Linked DNA regions of Homo sapiens: all the other regions are linked to region 3. The links are contacts of gene promoters, found by promoter capture Hi-C in blood cells and fetal thymus (Javierre and others, 2016). All regions are on one chromosome and are shown on one strand. Each heading gives the region's core, a stretch centred on a gene start or on the middle of the fragment in contact. The rest is flanking DNA. Distances are from core to core; before and after follow the strand shown.

Region 1 (3,342 bases), core at 474-2,973, 590 kb after region 3:
CAATCTGGGCAACCAGAAGTGTCTGTAGACTCGGTGCAACGGTGGAAGAGGGTAGTGCAGGTGCAGCAGCACAGTGATGTACGCTCCTCTCTTATGCCTAACGAGTGAAACTATCCCAGAAAAGTTCTAAGGCCGTGAGGCTGGTTAAGATAAAGAAAATAGAATATTTTGGATAAAGCTTCCTGCAAACTGCTTTCATTCAATCATCAAATGTTTACGGAGCACCACTCTTCCTCTTAATACCTACTCTTAGCATGCCAAGAACTGCTAAGTACTCAATAAGTTCATCCCAAAGAAGATTCATCCCAAATACATAGATCCAAGATAACTGAAACAAAAAGACATTTTTAAAGACATTGAGACAACAGAAGCTGTTCTCAAAAAAATTTTTTAACTATGGAAAAGTCAATTTGACAACTATGAAAGACTACAGTAACTGGATCTCAAATTTTGTCCGGTTTATGCTATTGTTTTAAAAAATGAAACCGGTAATTTAACATGCAAATTTCCAGAATTTAGAAAAAGTTACATAGTTTATTTCAATTTTACTAAACTTAAGTAGCAGAAATCTTTAAAATATGGCTTTCTATTCTCCTCATCACAATTGATAAAACAGGAAAACATAACTGGAAAAGGGAACTAATTCAGAACAGATGTCAGGGAAGAATTTTTCCAGTAGTGAACTATAAACATGCAGAATAAATACTGGAAAATGTATTATGGTAAAAAAATCAGAATCAGTTACTAATTGCATGATCTAAAGAGGAAACCAGATACCTAAATATGTAGAATAGGCATTTAAAAAATAGATAAACCATGTTTTCACTATCTAAACCTAACTAAAATGATACCTCAACCTGTAATCTGTTAAAATTCAGATACTTCCCAATGCCTACAAAGTGAGCTCTTATTTATCTATAAAGGTCTATCCATCCACAAACCTAACAAGTTTGCAAATAGAGCCTACTGTATTCATCCTGGTTGTTTTGCCATTTTTTTTTTTCAACTTAACACCTACTTGGTACTTTCCTTGTGATCTGCCTTCTCACTATTTCACTATTTATTTACACTCCGAAGGGAGATGTAGACTTGCAACCCCACCATCATCAAGCCTTTTCTAGAAAGAAGCAGAAAAAGGACAGTTCTGCCTCCACTGCTACACTTAAGAAATGGTTTGTGCTTTGCATGCAGTGAGGATCAGAAAGGAACTGAAGAGGAGCAAACAACAGAATCCATTCCAATGAAAGTTTGCTAATTTGTATGAAGTCAATTTGTGACTCATCCATATTCAAATGAAGGCACAAAAACAAATTCCAAAGCTAAATATAAAATGACTTTTGGACTATCCAGGTTTCTGCTCATTTCTACTTCATGGACAGAAGGCTGTGATGCTGGCAGCATTAACTCTCTCAGGCCACCAAGATCCCACTCAGTGGCTATAGTTCATTACCATGCAGGCCAAAGCAGTTTAATATAACATTACTACTAAAAGCACATGTATTGTATACAAGACAGTTTGTAAGTCTCCTGGCCATAGCAATCACTTTAGGAGACCAGGGCACAGCTGATTCACAATATTTAATGTGTCTAAAAAAGCATTCAACTTTAGAACTTGAAATTTCCTTAAAGATCATAAAGTGAGCCCAACACTATCATTTTACAAATAATATTTAGGCCCCCCGAAAAGATGAACTTACCCAAGGCTGGGCACCTTCATGGCAGCAAAGCCAGACCCAGGCCTCTGAGAAGCAGTCTAGTACTTTTTGTGATATATAGCATCTCACTGTTGGAGAATATGCTGAAGGAACTGAACTTGTATGTGAGGCAATCTTTTTGGTTTTTTTCAGAGTGGAAATGATGGGAAAGGGTTATGCAGTTATATTTGGAAAGAGGTATTTACTTCATCCATCAACTCTAGTTAAAAGGCAGATCTTGTTTCGTAGGCATAAATAATATCCTGAATTGGTTTATCACACATGAATAATAACTTTTCTCCCCCAGATTATTGAGGTCTTCCAGAGTTTACCAATGATTGAGGAAAACATGACTAAGAAATAAACTATCTTTTTAACCAGACTGCAAGCCTGTCCTGACTCTTATTATTTCTAATGGATGAAAAGACATTATTTAATGAGATTTTAAAGTAATATTGGCACTTATACTATTAAGTAATCTTTCCATCTCAGGTTTCTACTTTTTCCAAAATTTTCTACAATTAGAAAGTCTTTCCTGATCTACTATGTTACTTTCTCCTTGTTAAAGTAAACTTTAATATTCAGTCATTGATATTAATATTCAATCATATTGAGCTTCTATCTAAAAATTCTAAAAAATCGTAATCCAAAATTGTTTTGCTCATTTTACTTCTGCATATAGTAGCATGCAAACCTATTTCAATATATTTTGGAAAAGATGAGATTCAAGAATTTTCATATTTAATTGGTTATACAAAAATGTCACGGTTCGCAATTTTCCAAACCTTAAAAACTTTTTTCTAAAAGAAGTTGATATTAACATTTCCTAGCCTACAGCATCTAGTTCATAAGTGAGAGAAAGCAGCATAAGAGAAAGTACAAATAGAGGGGAAAGAGGTTAGAATTAGAGTCAAACCAAAAGTCTATCAGGAAAAAAAAAATCATAGCAAATCTTCCTACACAGATACAATAGATAAAGACAAACTGCCATTTTCTTGTTATCACCACGCAGCTGTCTGGGCTTGTGGCAGGCACCTTGATAAAGTATGTTCTATCTGGAGTATCAAGTTGAAGTAAAGAAAGCAACCAATAAATAAACTTATACATGCCCACTCGTGCCAAAAATACCCTATTCCAGCCAGGCATGGTGGCACATGCCTGTAATCCCAGCACTTTGGGAGGCAGAGGCGGGCAGATCACTTGAGGTCAGGAGTTGGAGACCAGCCTGGCCAACATGGTGAAAACCCCATCTCTACTAAAAATGCAAAAATTAGCCAGGTGCGGTGGCAGGCACCTGTAATCCCAGCTACTCCAGAGGCTGAGGCAGGAGAATCACTTGAACCCGGGAGGTGGAGGTTGCAGGGAGCAAAGATCGTCCCACCTGGGTGACAGAGCAAGACTCCATCTCAAAAAAAAAAAAAAAAACACTAATCCATATAATTTGTTACTTATAATATGGCTATTCTCTCTATTCATATCCAAATTAAAGGAGGCAATATTTTATGGACATTTACTGTCCATATCGAACATTCTTAGGTGCCACAGGGATTTCAAAGATGTGTGGGGTATGCTTTTGAAGCTTACACTTTGACAAGGGAATAGACCATGGACACAAGAGCACAAAAAGAAGGCAGAAAAATAAGAACTT
Region 2 (3,390 bases), core at 258-2,757, 570 kb after region 3:
AATGGGCTCCTCAATTTTCTGAATTTACCTAACTTTAATATTATTACTTGTTTGTGATATTCACCAAAGAAACCATATGGACCTGGAGTTTTCTTCATGGGGGTAAAGTTTTTTTGCCACAAATTCAAATTTTTAGATATAAGGCTATTCATTTTTTCTATTCCATCTTGCATTAGCTTAATCTGAGAACATGTCTAATTTATTGAATTTTTTCGTATAAAATTTTCATAATATTCCCTTATTATTTTTTTTTAATTGAGATGGAGTTTCACTCGTTGCCCAGGCTGTACAGTGGTGCAATCTCAGCTCACTGCAACCTCTGCCTCCCAGGTTCAAGTGATTCTCCTGCCTCAGCCTCCTGAGTAGTTGGGATTACAGGCGTGCACTACCAGGCCCAGCTAATTTTGTATTTTTAGTAGAGATGGGGTTTCACCATGTTGGTCAGGCTGGTTTTGAACTCCTGACCTCAAGTGATCCACCCACCTCTGCCTCCAAAGTGCATGAGCCACTGTGCCCAGCCTCTCTTATTATTCTTTTAATGTTAGTATGATCTATAGTCATATAACTTTCATTCCCAATTTTGGTCATTTCTGTTTTCTCTTTCCTTATCAGTTTTGTTGGGGGTTCATCAAGTTTATTGTACTTTCCAAAGAACAAACTTTAGACTTTTTAAATTTTCTCTATTGTCTCTATTTGGCTGCTTTCTGTCCTTATCTTTACTTATTTTGGGTTCGGTTTGGTCTTCTTTTTCTAATTTCTTAAGGAAGTTTAGAGACAGAGCAAGATTTGTGTGTGAAGCATCCCAAATTCAAGCTTCATTATCACTTTCACTGGAAGTCTTGGAGACTACCTCCAGGTTGTAGACACACACAAACATACACACACACACACACACATACAGATTTGCCTGAGCTCAGGAGCAAATGTTCATCTTTCCCACGTTGACTGTTTCTGCTGCATATTGCAGCACATTGTACAAGACCCAGGGCCAAAGTTCTGAAGGACCAGGTTCACTGCTTTGAACATGTCTAGAAAGTCCACTAGTGCGTCATCATGGCTCAGACTAAACATGAGTCTGAACTTTCAGGCAAAGATAAGGTCCTAAAGTTTAAATCTCTTTCACATTTCTAAAGACTTTCCTAGGAAACCAGCAGGGAGAGTGTTGTCTCTGCATCACTGTCCACATAAATTTGAGCTCTTTAGATATAAAGGTTACTTATTCTGGACCATGGACCATGGATACCTACAGCTATAATTTTTTAGGTTTTAGCACCCTGATCAACAAGTGCTGTCAACCAATCTGAGATAATTAAAAATTCTAAAATTTGAGTTGGTGGGAGAAAAGGTGTATGGGCAGGTTGGGATAAGAGGAAAATAAGGGAAGAAGACTACTACAGTTTCAAACACAACTGATGATTTCAAACACAACTGATGATGTAAGCAAAGGGTTCAAAAATTGGAAAATAAGAGCTACTCGAAAGGCTGAGGCAGAAGGACTACCTGAGCCCAGTACTTCAAGGACAACCTGGGAAACATAGTGAGGACCCATCTTTAAAAAAAAAAACTAAAAATAAACTGGAGAATTAAAGAATTAGGTCTGTTGCCCTCCTAGTTGGAAGTCTGTAGAAGCCAATGATTTCCAAGGAGACTTTAAGCCTAGAAAGTAAGTCAAGCAATTAACTTAGGTTTTCTGGACATCTTCTATTTCCCTCAGATTTTCTCCGCATCTCTTTTCAGCAGTATGTCTTCTACAATTTATTAATTTCCATTATGGCCTTAAATCTGTGGAAACTTTTCCATTGTGAAGTCATGAAAATTGGAAAAGAATCTGGAGGAATAACATACCATGAGACAGACCTGCCTCCAAACCAGACATCTCTTTCAGTATTTGTGAGGCCTCCCTTCAGTTTCTTTACTACTCAGAGCTTCACCAGGACAATCAAACAAACATAGAGGTTGTGGGAGCTCTAATGCAGCAATGAAGGTGAAGGTGAAGCCTGCTTGCTAAGAACAATCTGCTGTCATAAGACATTTAAAGAAAGGTAATATTTTTGGACATTTTTCTGTAACTGAAAAGATATTAAATATACAATGCATCTTGTCTTTTATCCTTTCAAAACTATTTACTGAATGTCCACTATGTACCAGGCATTGTGTGAGGGATAAAAAGATTAAATGGTAAGCAAAGAAACAGAGAAAAGAAAGCTTAAAGGCAGTTGTGAATGGAAAAGGTGGGAATGGAGGAGAAAACCTGAATTGTTAGTGAGTTCCTTTATTACCAAAGACTGCATGTTCTTAGACCCTTGAATCAGGAAAAAAAAAAAAAAAAAAAAAAACAAGTAGCTATGCTGGATCTCTGCTGACATGAATGGCAGGGAGTGGGTGTGTGTGTGTGTGTGTGTGTGTGTGTGTGGTAGGTTTTGGAGAAGATGAGAGAGCATAAGGAGAATACCTCAATTTCTGCCCAATAGAAGTGGGAGGATGGAATCACTGATGTTCCAGAAGCTAAGAAAGGAAAAATGTAAATTATTTTCTTTACGCATGTGGTTTGCACAACATCCTCCAACATAAGACTCCCACTTGGGTCCTAAAGTTGGAAAAATCTGGGGAGTATAAAGAAGGGGAACAGAGCAACAAGACTTGACACAGTATGCCAGATGTCAGCACTAGCAGACTGACTTCCAAAGGGGGAGCTTTTTCAGATATTCTCCAGGTGCATCGGTCATGTGCCTTACAAACCTGGCTGGAATTAATGACCTTTGTGTAAATTACAGAGATATATTTCTCACATAATTCCCCGTGTGCAGCAGGGTAGCAAGGAAAGAGTTCTTTAAGTGGGGATAATCTGAAGAGCCCTTAAGAACTCCCTACTCCAAATAGTATTTCCCATGTTGACTGAAATTCTTCATTTTGTTTCACTGCTTCAGAACTGATCGATCTGTGATCATCTCACCATAACTGCAGAGGCAGTTATAGCATAGTATAGTAATTAGAGCGTGAATTCTGAAATCAGATTGCCTTGTTCACCCTGGACTTCACCACAAATTGTTCATGTGTCTTAATAATTACTAAGAATTACATTGACGGCCGGGCGCGGTGGCTCACGCCTGTAATCCCAGCACTTTGGGAGGCCGAGGCGGGTGGATCATGAGGTCAGGAGATCGAGACCATCCTGGCTAACAAGGTGAAACCCCGTCTCTACTAAAAATACAAAAAAAATTAGCCGGGCGCGGTGGCGGGCGCCTGTAGTCCCAGCTACTCGGGAGGCTGAGGCAGGAGAATGGCGTGAACCCGGGAAGCGGAGCTTGCAGTGAGCCAAGATTGCGCCACTGCAGTCCGCAGTCCCGCCTGGGCGACAGAGCGAGACTCCGTCTCAAAAAAAAAAAAAAA
Region 3 (3,655 bases), core at 161-2,660:
CGTGGGGCGCGCACCTGTACTCCCAGCTACTCTGGAGGCGGAGGTTGCAGTGAGCCGAGATCGCGCCACTGCACTCCAGCCTGGGAGACAGAGCAAGACTCCGTTTCAAAATAAATAAATAAATAAATAAATTTTTGCTGAAAAAGATGCCTAATAGTAGGTATGTCATAATACCAATTATGTACCAATAAGAAGATATAGATATACCTATGAAAAGACACAGGCTGGTGTCACCACAACTTCTGAAAAAATACAAGAGAAACTTAACGGTGGCTATCTTCAGGGAGTAGAATAGGACGGGGCTTTTAGGTTACATCCTTCTATACTACTAAATTTTTAATCGAGTAAATGTTACTTTTTAAAGTCATCTTTTTTAGGATGGGGAAAAATGCACGAAGGAAAGAGTCAAGAATAGCTACAGGGCAGATCCAGGTGGACATTATTTACCAAGGTAAAAAGCTTGAACTTTTCTCCAAAAACCAATGGGGAGCCATGTACAAGTTTTAATAGGGGCATGATATATTCAGCTTGGCGTTTTTAACACATGACACTGCTGAGGACGGTGTGGCCTGGCTCCGAACACAAGGACAGTGGGATGCAAATGGCCTGAAAGGAGAGTCAACAAAAATAACAGGTAAGCGGGAAGACAACACGCGAGTTACTCATTAGTAAAAGGTGACTGAAGCTGACTTCTAATACCAGCGTTTCTCAGAGCCCCAAAGACTATCTACCTCGGAATCACCCTATGACCCAGTTAAAATGCAGATGTCTGGGCCCCACCTCAGGGCACCTGGATGAAAACTTCCTGGAGGATGGAACCCCAGCAATCTGCAACTTTAAATGGGCCCACACTAAAGTTAGAGAACCACAGGCTCGCTCACAACCCTGACTTCTCCATGTCAGTTCCGATCTTTGCGAACCGCAGACAGGGAAGGTCTTCTCTCAGGGGTCATGCCCGCGGCCGCCCTCCACGGCGAGGTCCGCACTCGCGCAGCCGGCCCCGCGGCCGCCTCACCTGGTCGCACACTACCACGTCGAACTCCTCGTCGGCGAGGAACAGCACGTAGAGCGCCAGGAAAACCATGCGCACGTAGGCGCAGACGGCGGCGCCGCGGCCGCCCCAGCCCAGGCCTCGCGGCAGCCAGTCCCCGGCACAGCGCACCGGTAGCTCGCGGCTCTCGGCGAAACAGTGGCCCGGGTCGTAGTGCGCTGTCCAGATCTTCACGCTACACCCGCGCGCCTGCAGCGCCAGCGCCGCGTCCAACACCAGCCGCTCAGCGCCGCCCACGCCCAGGTCTGGGTGGAGGAACAGCACCGACGGCTTGGGAACCGAGTCCCGTTCCCGGCCCTGCTCCTCCGCCATGGCCCTGGAGCCGCAACTGCACCCCGCACCCTGATGGGGGTCTTCTGCGCAAGCTCCGCGCTCGTAGCTCCCAGCTGGCCACTGCGGGCCGACCCCGCCCTGCCGTACGTGCGTCAGTTAGGCCACATCAGCGCAAATCTGTGAGGGTCTAGTAACTGCCTGAGAAAATATCTTGTCTGACCCCGGTTATATTTTTCCTTCGGTAGGGATTGGACTTTCTGAAGGACGTTGTGATCCAAAGGAAGGAGGCCGGAGGTCTCTACTTCCCATACAGCAGGTAACTAAGTTGTCTGTAGCAGACTGTCTACAGGCATATCGTGAGACGACCCAGGCGTCCCTGGGGTCAGAGAGGACCTTGCCTGCAAGTCCGGGGGCGGGGCCTGAGTCAGTCTCGCCAGCTGCCGGTCTTTCGGGGGCTCCGTAACTTTCTATCCGTCCGCGTCAGCGCCTTGCCACCCTCATCTCCAATATGGTATGGCGGCCCTTCCATGATCCCCGCCTCTCCCAGAAGCCCTGACTCCTCCTGCTTTGCGCCGTGCTTTTCCTCTGTAGCTCCCTTGCTTCCCCCAGCCTCGGGTGTGGGTGTCTAGGCCGGGGTTCTGGGGCAGGCCTGCCGCGCTCACCCGTCTGTCTGCTTGTCTCCCTCTACAGCCTGGTCCGACCCCCAGTGGCACTAACGTGGGATCCTCAGGGCGCTCTCCCAGCAAAGCAGTGGCCGCCCGGGCGGCGGGATCCACTGTCCGGCAGAGGTAAGGAACCCTGCAGTTCGTTCGCTTCCAGACTCGGAGATAGGACCCAGAACCTCGCTGATTCTGGGGTGGAGACCCTAGCATGTGAAGATTGACAAAGGCAAAATGAGCTTCTAGTGACGTGGCCGTGGGAGTAGTTAAAGGCCTTTTGGGAGGAAGGCGACATTTTTTTTCTCGTTGCTCAGTTTAGGGCACTACTCTTAAAAAAGGAAAGTTAACAAACTGGAATAGAGTCAGAGATAACTTTGAGAAAACCGATGTCATTAAACTGGTGTCTCTGGACCTGAGGTTTGCACTCACATTTCCATCTGGCGGCCCCATAAGCAATCTGTCCTACAGATAACTCGTCCTACACAAAACTTAGTCTCTTTTCAGCTCAGCTCTCTCACTCTCAATTATATCTCCTTACTTCCATATGGCACTGTTGTACACTCATTTACTCAGAGCCAGAAACGTCAGCGTCATCTTGGATTTTTCTTATGCTCTTTCTCTCTCTAGTCATATGCCAGACTTTAAACTCTGCTTGAAAGCTTTCTCATAAGCTCTTTCCTTTTCCCTTTCTACTGCTTTGCATTTGCTACTTAACCCTTTTCTTCAGGCTGTTTGCTTTCCAGTCCATCGTTCGCTCTGCTGTTACTCTTCTGCGTAGTTTCTGTTACTTGTTGCTGAACTAAAAAAAACAAACAAACAAAAAAAAAAAACCGGGGGGATACCAAAGCTCTTAGTGGTCATTTCAGCCTAACCTTTCTTTTTCCTTTTTTTTTTTTTGGGATGGAATCTCACTCTGTCGCCCAGGCTGGAGTGCAGTGGCACGATCTCGGCTCACTACAGCCTTTGCCTCCAGAGTTCAAGCAATTCTCCTGCCTCAGCCTCCTGAGTAGCTGAGACTGCAGGCACGTGCCACCACACCCAGCTAATTTTTTGTATTTTTAGTAGAGACGGGGTTTCACCATGTTAGCCAGGATGGTCTCGATCTCCTGACCTTGTGATCCTCCGTCTCTGCCTCCAAAAGTGCTGGAATTACAGGCGTGAGCCACTGCGCCCGGCCTTCAGCCTAATCTTTCTTTGCTGTCCTATGATCCAGCACTCGTGAACCCATTACTGTTTTCTGAATTCACAAACTTTCTCCCTCATCTCAAGGCAAATTTCTACTTATTTTCCAAGACTAAGCTCAGGGGTTATTTCCTCTTGAGGCCTTCTCTGTCTGTAAGCAGCAGTAGCTACTAGTTTTCCCTTTTGCCCCCATAGCATTTTGTTCATATCATTATAAGACCAGTGATGTTTCCATATTTATCTCCTTCATTAGACTTTAACAGAGAACCTGCTCAAGTCATTTCTATCCCAGGTACCCACCATAAGGCATGACACAATAAATAATGACTGAAGGAAGGAATCAAGCAACCAAGTTGTTTTGGGATTTTTGAAGGAACTAGTGGGGTTTTATCTAGGGAGGAAAAAATCTTGAACACATGCATGGAAACTTCTGAAGGATGTGAAGAGGGATGTGACATTTTCTGGCTGCAACAGGTAAATCTAAAACTGA

Evidence for each region. The method cuts DNA at HindIII sites, captures the fragments that hold promoters and counts their contacts. A CHiCAGO score of 5 or more calls a contact.
Region 1: a contact is called between a fragment that was not itself captured here and the fragment with the promoter of ALG2 in region 3, in 10 of 17 cell types (naive B cells, total B cells, fetal thymus and 7 more). The highest score is 10.8, in naive B cells.
Region 2: a contact is called between a fragment that was not itself captured here and the fragment with the promoter of ALG2 in region 3, in 1 of 17 cell types (naive B cells). The highest score is 5.3, in naive B cells.

What each region holds. Positions count from the first base shown.
Region 1 is chr9:99,813,906-99,817,247 of GRCh38, forward strand. All of the region lies in intron 1 of LOC101928438 (a long non-coding RNA gene), which reads right to left. Among named protein-coding and RNA genes, the nearest start is that of NR4A3, 6.3 kb to the right of the region's middle. The HindIII fragment of the contact is 3,095 bases long and covers 177-3,271 here.
Region 2 is chr9:99,794,036-99,797,425 of GRCh38, forward strand. All of the region lies in intron 2 of LOC101928438 (a long non-coding RNA gene), which reads right to left. Among named protein-coding and RNA genes, the nearest start is that of NR4A3, 26 kb to the right of the region's middle. The HindIII fragment of the contact is 1,392 bases long and covers 812-2,203 here.
Region 3 is chr9:99,220,532-99,224,186 of GRCh38, forward strand. It overlaps ALG2 (ALG2 alpha-1,3/1,6-mannosyltransferase), which reads right to left and starts at 1,411. Exons shown (of 2, transcript NM_033087.4): 1 at 1,016-1,411. The coding sequence starts at 1,363. It overlaps SEC61B (SEC61 translocon subunit beta), which reads left to right and starts at 1,751. Exons shown (of 4, transcript NM_006808.3): 1 at 1,751-1,835; 2 at 2,015-2,112. The coding sequence starts at 1,833. RefSeq lists an enhancer at 1,501-1,820. The HindIII fragment of the contact is 2,183 bases long and covers 458-2,640 here.